2 separate regions of the Homo sapiens genome follow, and region 2 is linked to region 1. The links are contacts of gene promoters, found by promoter capture Hi-C in human tissues and cell types (Jung and others, 2019). All regions are on one chromosome and are shown on one strand. The core of a region is centred on a gene start or on the middle of the fragment in contact, and the rest is flanking DNA. Distances in the headings are between cores, read along the strand shown.

The links. The method cuts DNA at HindIII sites, captures the fragments that hold promoters and counts their contacts. A contact is called where the count stands out against the background at its distance.
Region 2: a fragment that was not itself captured here is called in contact with the fragment with the promoter of WT1 in region 1 in 1 of the 25 tissues and cell types used here (dorsolateral prefrontal cortex).

The regions. Positions count from the first base shown.
Region 1 is chr11:32,431,338-32,438,137 of GRCh38, forward strand. WT1 (WT1 transcription factor) reads right to left here and starts at 4,202. Exons shown (of 10, transcript NM_024426.6): 1 at 3,363-4,202. The coding sequence starts at 4,023. WT1-AS (WT1 antisense RNA) reads left to right here and starts at 4,181. Exons shown (of 5, transcript NR_120548.1): 1 at 4,181-4,509. RefSeq lists a silencer at 1,843-1,980, promoters at 1,932-2,665, 4,003-5,201, 4,003-4,653, 4,295-4,397, 5,301-5,637, enhancers at 2,551-3,135, 4,243-4,275, 5,939-6,086, 6,676-6,800 and cis regulatory regions at 4,582-4,619, 4,604-4,730, 4,823-4,842. The HindIII fragment of the contact is 5,194 bases long and covers 1-5,142 here.
Region 2 is chr11:31,794,964-31,800,629 of GRCh38, forward strand. All of the region lies in intron 8 of PAX6 (paired box 6), which reads right to left. Among named protein-coding and RNA genes, the nearest start is that of PAX6, 14 kb to the right of the region's middle. RefSeq lists enhancers at 1-1,910, 3,664-4,201. The HindIII fragment of the contact is 5,432 bases long and covers 1-4,494 here.

The sequences.
Region 1 (6,800 bases), core at 2,952-5,451:
CTGACCCTAGGGTGGCCTGATGATCCCAGGCCTAATCATGCCTTAGGGTTCTGCGAGCCTGCGGGGCTGCGGGATCAGTGGACTAGCAGGCAACCTCTTTTTTTTTTTTTTTTTTCCGAGACGGAGTTTCGCTCTGTCGCCCAGGCTGCAGTGCAGTGGCGCGATCTCAGCTCACTTCAACCTCAGCCTCCCGGGTTCAAACGATTCTTGTGCCTCAGCCTCCCGAGTAGCTGGGATTATAGGCGCCCGTCACCAAGCCCGGCCAATTTTTTTTTTTGTATTTTCAGTAGAGACAGGGTTTCACCGTGTTGGCCAGGCTGGTCTCAAACTCCTGACCTCAGGTGATCCAACCGCCTCGAGCCACCGCGTCCGGCCCAAGCAAGCTTTTTTCCCCTCCTCCTTAAGCCTTGCATCTAGTCTGGGGCTACTCAAGTCCTCACCCCACATCTGCCCTCACAAACCCGTCAACCCCCACACATGGACTAAGAGTTTGGTGCCCCTCCCGCAGGCCAGAAGAAATCCATCTCAACGGTGGGGCCAAGATCCCTGGAAAAGGAGTAGAAACACCCTAGCATGGTCTGGGTTCAAATCCCACCTCTGCCACCTAATCTCATAGAACCTGGATTTCCTCATCCAAAACAAGGGGCCTCTCCAGGATTAGCTGGTGAGCTTCTTGCAAAGGTTCTCGAGGCCATTGTCTTAATTAATATTCAGAACCCAGTGCCTGACCAAGTAGGCGATTGATGTTTGCTAAATTAATGTTTACAAGATTAGGATGCAAGATATAATATTTAAGAATTTAAAATATGAACATGCTTGTGAAGTTTTGGGCGGTTGTGAGTGGGTACCAACAATTGCCCCTGCCTGTGCACCATGGCTAGACTGCCCTAGGGATCCAGAGACGGCCTTGATTCCTCTCCCCTGGGGTTTGGCCTTGGCGCTCTGATGGCCATTTCCACATTTTTGAGAGTTGATGCCCTTGCCTCTCACAGCCCAAGTCTTGGGCCAGGCCCTGCATTCCTGGGGAAGCAGCAGGAACCCTGGAAATCCAAAGAATAAACCCAGAATCTCGAGGGCCACCCTTGCCCACTCCAGGATAGCAGCCGGAGCGCTTCTCACATCCAAGCTGCCCAATGAGCCTCAAGGGCTGGGTAAGATGGACCCATCTGTTTTCACTGCAAGACAAAACTTAAACCTGGAGATGGTGCTTCCAGGCTATATGACTTGAATCTAGGGCCCTCTCTCCATTGGGCTTTTTCTCCAGGGTGGAGAAGAAGGATACATTCACCTACTAGTCCTGGTCCCCTTTTAACTTTTTCTCCATGGCAGCCACGCCTGTATATTACAGAAGAATCCAGATATTTTCCAGAAGTGTAATGCCTGCTGGCTGCAAAACCCACAGTCCCACCCCCCACGACATGTGATAAGATCCCAGGCACCAGACCTGCCCTGAAAAGGGCTGGACAAGGGACCCAAACGAAGCGACAGAACCCAGGTTTCAAAAATCCCCTAGAAGTACTAAAAAGATAATGGCGTAGTAGTATTTTGTGCCCCAGGGGCATGGATTCGATGGTTTCTCAACCGCCTCCAAATAGCACACATGCAGACAGTGCTCTCGGATTCATTGTTTCTCAGTCACAGATGTTTAGATGGGTTGCCGAGTTCCATATTTAAAGCCCCAAGAGGGTGGTGGGTAGCGCTTCTGCATCTATGGAGTATAACTTCAAGCCGGACCCAATCTCCAGGTTGCCCATCTCAGCTGTCCTCTTATAGACGGGGACACTGAGACCTAGAAACTCCCCAAAAGTAACACCAGCCTGCTAAACAAAGGTGGCGCGATCTGATCAAAGAACACAAGCCTCAGCGACCAGTAAGTTGTCCCAACGCCCCTTGAGTACAAAACACTAATTTCACTAACTAAAAGCATAGAGTGGAGGCAACCCTTGGGTCTGCTTGCGGTTCCTCCACAGGACAGTGATCCCAGATTCTCCCGAAGAAAAGGGCGGTTTCGATTTCTCCAAGGCTTCGCGGGGGCCGGGTGCTCCTGGTTAGGCTAAGGTAGGAGCGGCCTGAAGACGCGCGTTTAGAAGGCGCGGGTGAAGGCGGGCAACAAGGGCAGAGCCCTTCTCCCGAGCCTTGGGCGAAGGTACCTCCTGCAAAAGATACACTCTGCTTCCCACGCATTCCAAAAACATCCCGGTCCCTAGGCCCTCGAGTAATTTTGCTCCAGGAAAAGCATCCGCCATTGTATTAGTAAAGCGTTTACTAAATTACCGAATCAAACCGAACTGGCTTAGGTTCTCAATAGCGTGGAAATCCACTGAAAATAAATGAAGAGGGCAAACTACAGGGGCTCCGCAGGTTCGGGTCCGCGCCGCCCAGGCGAAAGAGAGGTGGGCGGGCATCGGCGCGGGATGAGAAACCAACCTGATACTTATCGTGTGCCGAGTTCCCTCCTTGTATCCTGACTAAGCACAGCGAATAACCCTGTCCTTGTTCTAACCCCAGGTCTTGAAGAAATACTGTCCCAGCTGAGCCCCGCGTTTACAAGATGAAGAGGCGCCCCAGATGCGCTGAAAGAAAGGCCAAAGCTCGTGCCTCCTTCCACTGCCTGCGGTAGAACCTGGTCCCGCATAGCTTGGACTCGGATAAGTCAAGTTCTCTTCCATCCCCAGAACCTGCGTGGCCGCCGCCTGAGCGAAGCCCAGTGAAGATCCACTTCTGTATTACCATACGCGGGAGCTATCCACGGACACGACGCTGTTCCAGAAAGCCATTTAGTTACTGGAGGTGCATGTGCTCATTCTAGTTCTCTACGATACTTAATGTGCACCTAAGTGTGTGCCAACACCGTATTATAAGGGCTGGAGGTGCTCCTGGACATTTTAGCGCTGCGGAGGCAGCACAGCACAGGCGCTCACCCCCGCGCTGGTCCCACTCCGAATCCAGAGTCCAGACGTCTGAAAAGCGCTACGCTTGGTGACAATTTGGCGTTTCCTTAATTAACAAAACTCTCCCCAAGGCAGAGCCAGACACTGCGCCGGTCTCCTGGTTCCACTCCCGTGGGGACTAGCAGTCCCGGAATCTCTCGGACTCTAAGGGGCCCCAGACGCCCTCCCGGCTCTTGCGAACAGTCAGGCTCCTAGCTCTGCCTGGCTTTGGAGGATGTCGGGGGCCAGTGCCTGCGTGCACTCCCACTCTCCGGCCTCCTCCCCAGCCGCCGCTTCCGCTATCCTCACGGCCCTTGGGAAGCAGCTGGGTAAGAGCTGCGGTCAAAAGGGGTAGGAGAGGGGGGTGTCCTAGAGCGGAGAGTCCCTGGCGCCACTGCCCCGCGCGTAGGGGGCGCTCCCCGGCCTACTTACCCTGATTGCGAATAGCGGGCTGGCTCTCGAGGCAGCTGGGCAGGTAGGGCGCGTTAGGAAACATCCTGGCCTGGCCGGATGACGCCTGGCTGGGCGGAGGAGGACCGAAGGGCCCGTAGCGACAGGCTCCGGCTGTGCCAGTGAACTGGCCGGAAAAGTGGACAGTGAAGGCGCTCAGGCACTGCTCCTCGTGCGGCTCCGCGCCGCCCCAGCTCGGCTCCTGTTTGATGAAGGAGTGAGGCGGCGGCGGCGGGGGTGGCGGCGGAGCCGGTGGCGGCGCGGGGCCGCCCAACGACCCGTAAGCCGAAGCGCCCGGGGGCGCAAAGTCCAGCACCGGCGCCCACTGCGCCGCGCCGCTCACAGGCAGGGCACAGCCGCCGCCGCCACCCAGGGAGGGGACGGCGGGCAGCAGCGCGTTCAGGTCCCGCACGTCGGAGCCCATTTGCTGCGGCTCAGACCCGGACGCCCCGCGGCTCCTCCGGCCCTGGAGACGTTCAGCGCTGGCCTCGGCGGCGCCTAACTTGGCCCAGATGCCGCCCGGGTCCCGGACTCCCTGCTGCTCTGGCTGCTGTAGGCACCCAGGCCCGGAGCGGAGCGTGTGCTGAGACGCCGGCTCCGGGACACACGTGGAAGCCGGGTCCTGCAGCAAGAGGAAGTCCAGGATCGCGGCGAGGAGACGGCGGGGCCCGGGCGCCTGGGCTGCCGTCCCGGCTCTGGGTGGGTGGGTGGGTGAATGAGTAGGTGGGAGGGAGGGCGGGAAGTGGGGGAGCGGACAGGCGGTCGGGTTGCGGAGAGCCCCCGGGTGTGGGCGCTGCCTTGAACTCCTTACCCCAGCTGCCTGGCTGCCCTCAGCTTCCCAAAGCTCAAATAAGAGGGGCCGGCGGCGCGGGGAAGAGGAGGAGCCAGGAGGCTCGGCCGCTCCATTCACTCAGCAGCCCAAGCCCGGCCAGGCAGCGCGCGCTGCTCCTTGGGGGCGCCCTCGCAGCTGGGGTGAGGGCGGGTCCGAGGGAGCGTCCCTCTCGGAGACACCCTCCTCTTCAACCCAACACGCGCTCTCAGCTGGCCGGTGTGGCACAACCCTCCCCCCACCTCCCCTTCTTGGCCTTCGCCAGTGTGGGAGCCTCGTCTCACTGGAGAGTCCGTTCAGGTAAGCAGTGAGTCCGGGCAGGGTCGAATGCGGTGGGAGTAGAGATGGGGTTGTTAATCTAAAAGAGTGGTTTGGAGGGAGGGGCAGGTAGGCTCCAAGAGGGCGGGAACTTCAGGAAAGCGCAGAAAGAACTCAGTCAAGCTTCAAAGAAGCGTATACCCTTGCTTTGCACCCTTGAGTCTGGCTCTTGCTTCTAGAACTGTCGGGTAGGGGAGTGGCCATGATCTTGGGGTCACTGGGGAAAGAGGTGGCCCTTTGTGGGTTCCAGAGGTCGGGACTGAAAGCGAACGTCCCTCAGTTGGGTGGCCGGGAGTTGCACCAGTTATAAGCCGGGCGTATTTCGATCGGCTAGTAGTTGTTTACTTGGTGAGGTTTGCGCCAGGCGGAAGGCGGTTGCCGCCTACCTAAAATTGGAGTCAGCAGCACTTAGTTTCCCTTTCCAGTGAGGAATATCTAATTCTTCTACGGTTAAGCCGGGAAAACAGCGGCTAGTTTAGGAGGGAAGAAAACCCTTGGGCAAACGCCCAAAGCCTGCGTATATTCCGGCCGGAGCATCCTGGCGCCCAGTTTGGGGAGGAGGGGTGAAGGGGAGGGTTTGGATACGAAGCCCGGCAGGGAGCGGGTAACTCCTGGAGCCACTCCGCCGAGCACTGCCTGTGGCCCTGGTCGAGGATACCATTCTGGTTGCTCAGTGATTGACCAGGAGGCGGAAGCCAGTTAAGGGGACCAAGGAGTGGAGTAGGGAGAACCTCCATCGGCCCACGGGCGCGAGTTAGTGTTCGAATCTTTGGGAGCTCGAAGAGCTTCGCTAAATCTGACTCCCTTCGTCTAGTCTCTGTTTGGCAGCCCCCGCGCCCCAGAGCAGGTGTTTGGGGCGGGTAGGGGGTGTTTTGGTTTGGTTTTTGGATCTTCTAAAGGAGTCAGTATCTATTGGGAAACAACCCCTAGGCAAGGAGAAGAACCGGGGGCCGGAGCGGAGCGTGTTTCAGAGGTGCGTATAAAATCCCAGGGGCGCCAGGAGGCAGCAGCGACGGCGCAGCGTGGGACGGCCAGGCGCGACGGGAGGGAAGCAACCGGTTGCAGTCCGGCCTCCTGTACCTGGCTGGCCCGGGCTGGGGCTGCAAGCTTTCCAGCCAAACTTATGTGAAGCAAAGTAGTTGCAGTTTGACAAAGAATGGCGTTTCAATAAATGACATAGTAATTTTTTACGCTTTGGTTTTTAGCTTGCATTGCATAAACGTTGTCGCCATTAAATTCTGGCTGCGGACCCGAAGTGTGTGCGGGCCCAGGACTTACTCGAAGGGCGCACTTCTTGGGAATGCGCATCCCGTAGGCGCAGGAGACCCTGAGGGTAAAGATGCGGCACTTGAGCCCTCCGCTTGCCTCCCAGGCCACCTTTGCTGCTTGACTTTGCGTCGTCTCCACTCAGAAGCTTTTAAAATTATTATTAAGAAAAGAAAGATTCTACAAGACACTGCCCCCACGCTCTCTGCTCAGTCCTCTCCCACACGATCTATCCCTAAACCTTTCGCGGGGCTCGCGCGTTTGGTTTTTTGAGTGGAGAAAGGACTCTCGAGACAAAATTCACTGCCAGTTGCCCTAAGAACCCCCCAGATCCCTGTATCTCCCTTCCTTCTCCCCGCCTATTATTTCTACTTGGAAGTCGTTTTTCTTAACTAGGACTCAACTGTGAGGGGCGAGGAGCCCTTTATGAAAAGCCGGGGACTTTCATTTCCAAACGAAAAGATTGAGATTGTTTCTTCTTTTACCATCCTTGGCACTTTTAGCGGGGGGAGAGGAGGTTATCTGAAGGGAGGCTGGCTTGAATGTGAGTCGTTGTGTTTGTGAAACCCAGGTAAGGCAAAGACACGTAAATCTCTGCCAACATTTTTCAAAAATAAGTTTTTGCCCCGGGGTGAGGGATGTAGGGGTGGATAGGAGGAAAGGAGAGCCAAGCAAATGTAGAACTCCTCTCTCCTCTGCCATTTATTTTCTCAGAATCCTTGTGGGGGCGGGGAGGGGAAGAGCACCGGTGCGAACCCCGGGGTGCCCCCTCGCCCGACTTGGACTTCTCCGACTAAAGAGGTGGGAGGAGTTCCCTGCAGCCTGCGGGGCCAAGAAGAAAGTGCTAAGCTGAGGAGCCGCAGTCGGAGGACCCCAGGGACCCGACAGGAAGTCTCCGTACGACCCCAACGGATCCACATGCCCGGAAGCCCAGGCGACACTAAGCCAGCGCTGGGGAACTGACGTACTCCTGCAGTCGCAGGGCGCTCCATGCCTCTCTGTCCTCT
Region 2 (5,666 bases), core at 529-3,028, 640 kb before region 1:
GACCACCATTTTCTTTGTTTTTATCAAGATGAGACTTTATAATACACACACTAAGTGGCATTTCTTGAATGAAAAAATAAGCACTGAAGTTTCCAATTAAAATGATCTTTTATAAGTAACCCCAACTCCCCAAATGCCTCACTCCACTCCCTACAGAATCTCTTTACCTATGGCTGTGTTGGGAAAATAGAAGAGTGATGTTCAAGATTTCAGTTGATCTATAATCAGTAATTCCTATCTAATCAATTAGATGTTGATAGGTTTGTAGAAAATGCTATTAAGAAACCAAACCAAGCTTGTAATCTTTTTTAAAAAATATTTATCTAGTTTTTATTTGAATTCTGCACAGTCAATTTCATTTAAAGGTTGTGAATTTAGAAGTGCTCGCATTGTTCTGCAGTTTTATTCAACTATTGTATGAGTGCGCTTCGCCTTGACACCTATTACGAGCACAGCTGTAATTATATCATCACCAAGAACAGGCTATAATTGCTGAAAATGGAATTTTATATTTAGATAAAAGGACTGTCCATTCTTTGTAATGTGTTGCACCAGAGAAAAGTAAGATTTCTTTTAAATTTTTAACGTGTAATTTTAAAAAAGAAATAGTAGAGAGTTCACTAACTAGCTAAATATTCTATGCTGCAGCTGAATCTTTGGCATATCATTTAAGTGGTACATTTTTAATTAGGGCATTTCCACCACTTTGAATGTAACTTCTATCATTATACAGGGGGAAAGTTTTATGGTTTTCCCTTGCTGCCTGGAGGGCAAGATGTGCACTTGGGCTAGCTGGCTCCCGGCTTGCACCTTGCCTGTAAGGCCACAGTGAAGGGAAGCAGGATTGCCTAAACTCTGACTGGGCCTCCAGGGCCACTACAGGCTGGGTCCTGGGTCTGGGGTCCTGAAATGACCCCCAAGGGATACCAGCATGGGCTACCCACCTCCCTATCCTCAAAACTTGGCCAGAGGCGGGGTGGAGGGGCCCCTAGGAGCGCCTTGGTGGGAATCGACTTGGCCAGGAATATTATTTATAACCAGGAGACAATAGGCTGCGCCTTCAAAGAGTTCAGGGAATTGTGACAGGATCTAGTGGGATCTTTTCAGGAACTTTGAAATGTTTTAAAACCCCAACTTTCTCCCCCATTTAAACAGGCGGATTCATCGGCACTGGCCACCATATGGGCCCTTGGAGATCTATTGAGATGACCACCAACACTTGAATAGCGAGGGGCTGCTTTTCAGCGCTGCACAATGCCCCGCGAGTAAGGGAAACTATTAAACTCCTGGGGCAGGAGCGTTGGCAAACTTTCGTGGGCAGAATTTTGAGGCTACAATGAGCGCGGACAACAAAAGGATTCTCTTGAGGCGTGCAGCGGGCCACATTGTGTTACAAGAAGCCCAGTCAACAGACTTTTCAGTGAAGTGTGTTAACCCCTCTGCTCTGCTATCATTAATCACTGTCCGAAGAGCGGGCGCCTCCGTGCTATTTAGGGCGCTTGGCTGGGGGGATGGAGGGTGGATGGGGGGGCCAGGGCCCAGCATGGGGGGAGGCAGGGAGAGTGGACGGGGACCAGGGCTGGGTTCCTACATAGAGGAGATGGAGGGGAGGCAGGATGGAAACCAGCGGTGGGGGTGGAAGCAAGGGGGAAGGATTGGGGGGCCTGGGTTAGGGGAAAGACAGAGGGCGATGGAGGGAAAAAGAGGGCGATGGAGGGGAAAAGAAGGCTCAAAAAACATAGAGGCTAGAAAGGTATTTTTAAAAAAGGACAGAAAAGAATGCTGAGAGGAAAAAGAGACACGAGGGCCGAACAAGAGTGGGAGAGAGAGGAAAAGGAGGATGAGGGCCAGAGAATATTAGTAACTGAGCCCCATCTGGACTCTGGGTCTTTGCACTCCATCAGAAAGGTGGGGGTCGAGGAGGGCTACTTAGCTGAGGGAGACGCGCTCCGCTCACGTGTGCGGGCACAAGCGTCTGTGCTAATTTACTGCCCCAAGTTTCCGGGGACTTTTCAAAGCGTTTTTCAAGGGAAGAAATGAAGCGACCACCCCCACCCCTCGCTTTATTTTCGGGTTTGGTGAAGAAGGAAGACTGGAAATAGCTCCTTTTGGCCAACTAGAAAGGCCGGAGGGTTATTGCTTTTGGAAAACAGACAAAAATCTGTGCACATCTGGTATGGGGTGGGGGACACTGAGGAGAACACAATGCCCATCTCCCCATGGCCACTCATGCCCATGCCTTCCTAGGGGCCCCATCTCGGTCCCTTTTCTGGCACATTCGATCTCGCCAATTAAACAAAGTTGCCCGAATCTGCCTCCGAAGAACCCCGCCGATAGCATGCTCTGCTCTCATTTGCCTCTTTGACATTTTCTTAATTTTAAAACATGGAGATTCACATTCTTATCCATGTTCTGTCTCACACAAACATACACACGGGTTTACACAGGCAGCACGCGATCGCCGCCAGGCCCTGTGCTGCCTCCAGAACTGACACTTAAGAGAGAAAAGTCAGCAGGGACAGTAGAGCTCAATTTTAAATCTGGAAAAAAAAAAAAAAAAAAAAAAGATGGGAAGCGGGGATTGGAATTCCACAGCAAAAAGAAACCTGTCGCTGCAGGATCCCTTCTCTACCCCGCGGGGAGAGCGGCACGGAGACAGTTCATTACTTTAGAAGTGGCAACTGTTTGCAGCCAGGCGGTGACCTAGCGGCTGCTCTTACATAAAATGGGTACATTTCCCCCCACTTTAGTGGATTTGCCTTCCACTCTTAAAGCTTTTAACAAAATAAAACTAGAAGTTGGATCTCGACTCCCCCACCCCCACGATAAACCTAAGTGGTGGACAATTAAGATATCTTCTTCAAAAGGCGCCCCCTCGGAGCCGCGCAAAGCAGGGGCCTTCAGTGGGTGCCGTTCACCTTCCAGCCTAATCCGTGAGAAAGCGAGTGAAAGCGCCTCCCATTATCCCAGCCCCAGGACCATCTGACGATGGGAATAGGATTTGTTTCCTGGAAGGAGGTGAGAGAGAGAGAGAGAGAGAGAGACAGAGAGAGAGTTGCTGGGAAATAAAATCATTCCTTAGTTTCTTAGTGTCTTAATCAGTGAGGCGGAAAACAAGCAAGAAAAGATAGCAACCCGGTTGCGGCACCTTTTCAGCTCTGGAGCGCGGATCAAAACATTGTAGCATCTGTTGAAAGAGAGGCTGACTAAATCCTATAGAGGGCTTGGGTATTATGGGGGGTGGGGGTGGGGTGAGGGGAGGAGATAAGAAAAAGTGTCTCCGTGATCCCTAAAACCACCAAATCGCCGGAGAATTGGGGCTGGATAGAGTTGTCTCTTGTTGTTGTCAGCCCACGTCGTCGCGATTTTATTCACCGCCGCATGGCGTTGATCAGATGGAAACCATATTTGTCTCCCTCTGAGACCTAACCCCCGCCTTATGCTTTTGGAGTATGGACTCTTTAAAACCCAAGAAAGGCTTCCTGGGCTGGGAAAGGGGGCTAGGGAGGGAGGGGGACCCTCTTAGCACCAAAAAGTCTGAGGATTCCCCGGGAACGTGAAGCGAAGCTCACCACCGGTGCCCGCTACCCCCACGCCGGCAACTCTGTGCTTCGTTTGGCCCACGTGTCCTCCCCACGCAACTAGGGGCGACGGTCCTGTGCCTGAGGTGACAATCACCCCCCAAAAACCTCACTTGCGGGTGGGGGGGTGGTGATTGCCAGTTGACCCAGAATTTTCTAGCAACTAGGCGCGTTAAAGTGAAAAGCCCCTGGACTAGCTCCACCTCCGGCCCCAACCATCACAGGCGGACCCTAGCTGATTTGACTCTCACTTCCCGCCCTCAGACTGCCGGCGACGAAAATCCGCCCGAATCGGGCGCCACCTCTGGTGGAAGCTGCTGTCCTCGGCTTCTGCCCAACTCCAAGAAGCGGAAGGGGGGTGTATCCTGCGCCCCAAGCTCATGGGAGCCCACGCACCGGGGAGAGCCCGGAGTGGAGGCTCTGGGCTCAGCCCTCCCAGGCCTAGGCCACCGTGCCCTGAGTCCCTCCCCAAGACTTCTCGGACTAAGTGGGCCAGACTCTTGTCAGGGGAGGGATCACCAGGACCTCAGATTGCTGGGGGCGGAGGGGTGGACGCTCGTGAGTGCGAAGTTCGGGTGTCACTTGGGTGTGTCCAGTGTCTACAAGTGGGAATCCTACGGTTTCAAAAGTCAGGCAGGGATGGGGTTGCCTACACTCGGTGGGGTCAATCGCTAGTCTCACCAGAGGCGGGAGCGGGCCTGGGGGCCCTCTGAGCTCGCGGAGGCGGCGGGTTCGGGGCCCGTGCGGGCGGGGTCGCCCAGGGGAGCCCGGGCCCCGCGCGTCAGGAGGCCTCCGCCGGCCGAGCGGCCGCGCTGGGAAACAAGAAGCGAGCGCTTTGCTCCCTATCTTCCCAGTGTCCGTCCTATATTGTTTTCTGCTCTTAAAACTGACATGTCTAATTGGCAATTGGTGCCGAATCGTGTCCAGAGGTCTCTTGTGGAACATTTCTACAGCTGTCTCCTTCAACTAGACGCTTATTCATGTCGCCTTAATGAGAAACAAAACGTTCTCTAATGAGCAATTACAGAGCGACAGGATTGTTCCCATAACAAATTCTTGCGAGTGACAGAAGCATCCTTTGTACCAGATATTTCGCATACTGTTACCGATTTTCCCTTCCCTCGCCCGACTCCATGGAGGCGCCGGGCATCCGGAGCCGGTCCGAGAGCTCACGGATGCGCCGGCAGCCTCCTCGCAGTCCCGCGCGCCGCCCCTGGCCCCGAGCCCCTCGGCTCCGTTGTGCTCCTGGGAGTGAGACGCCACGTCCCATTATCCCGCATATTATCTCCTTGTCACGAGGACAACAAATACCGATTAATCTTCGGAGTAAACTGTTTCCTATTCTTGACCAAGCTACCTCGGGGTGTGGAGGGGAGCGGAGGGGAGCCAACTGACCCTCCCCTCCGCCCCACCCCCCCCATCCCCCGCTCTTCTTCCTCCAGCCCTTCTCACAGAACCTGGGGTGTTTCAGGTCCCATCTCTCCTCCCAGACCAGAGCGGCTCCCGGCATCCCGCCGTCCTGCTCACAGTATCTTCACCTCACCACTTCCACATAGTCGCCACCCACAGAGAGTGAGAAAGTGGGACCCAGAGGGGCGAACGGGGGAGGGGCAAGGATAGTGGGGTGGTTTTAGTTGGGAGACCACCACTTCCAATGCCCCATCCCCGACTCGCCCTGCATCTCCCTGCTCACCTTTTCATGTGCACCCTACTCATAGTCACATAATTTGTCAATTACAGCAAAAAGCAACAGGATACAATTATGTTAACCTCGCAGTCTGTCAGTGCGTTATCTTGTCACACTTCTACAAGGGGGCTCTCCCTGCATTCTAATGTCAAATTTGAATAGTGCACCACGCAGCTCGTTCTTATGCACACAGTGCTGCCCACAAACACACACACGCACCCACCAGCCACCTTCATACCGCTCCTGACATACACAACCCTCACATTCCCAGGCCAACAAAATGGTTCAACAAACACCACCTACATACAATGTGGTCGATGTGTCCCAGGCCTTCAAATGCAGTCTCACCCATGACATTCCCCAAGCATGGAAGCCCTGAGAGGAAATGGTTGGGAGAG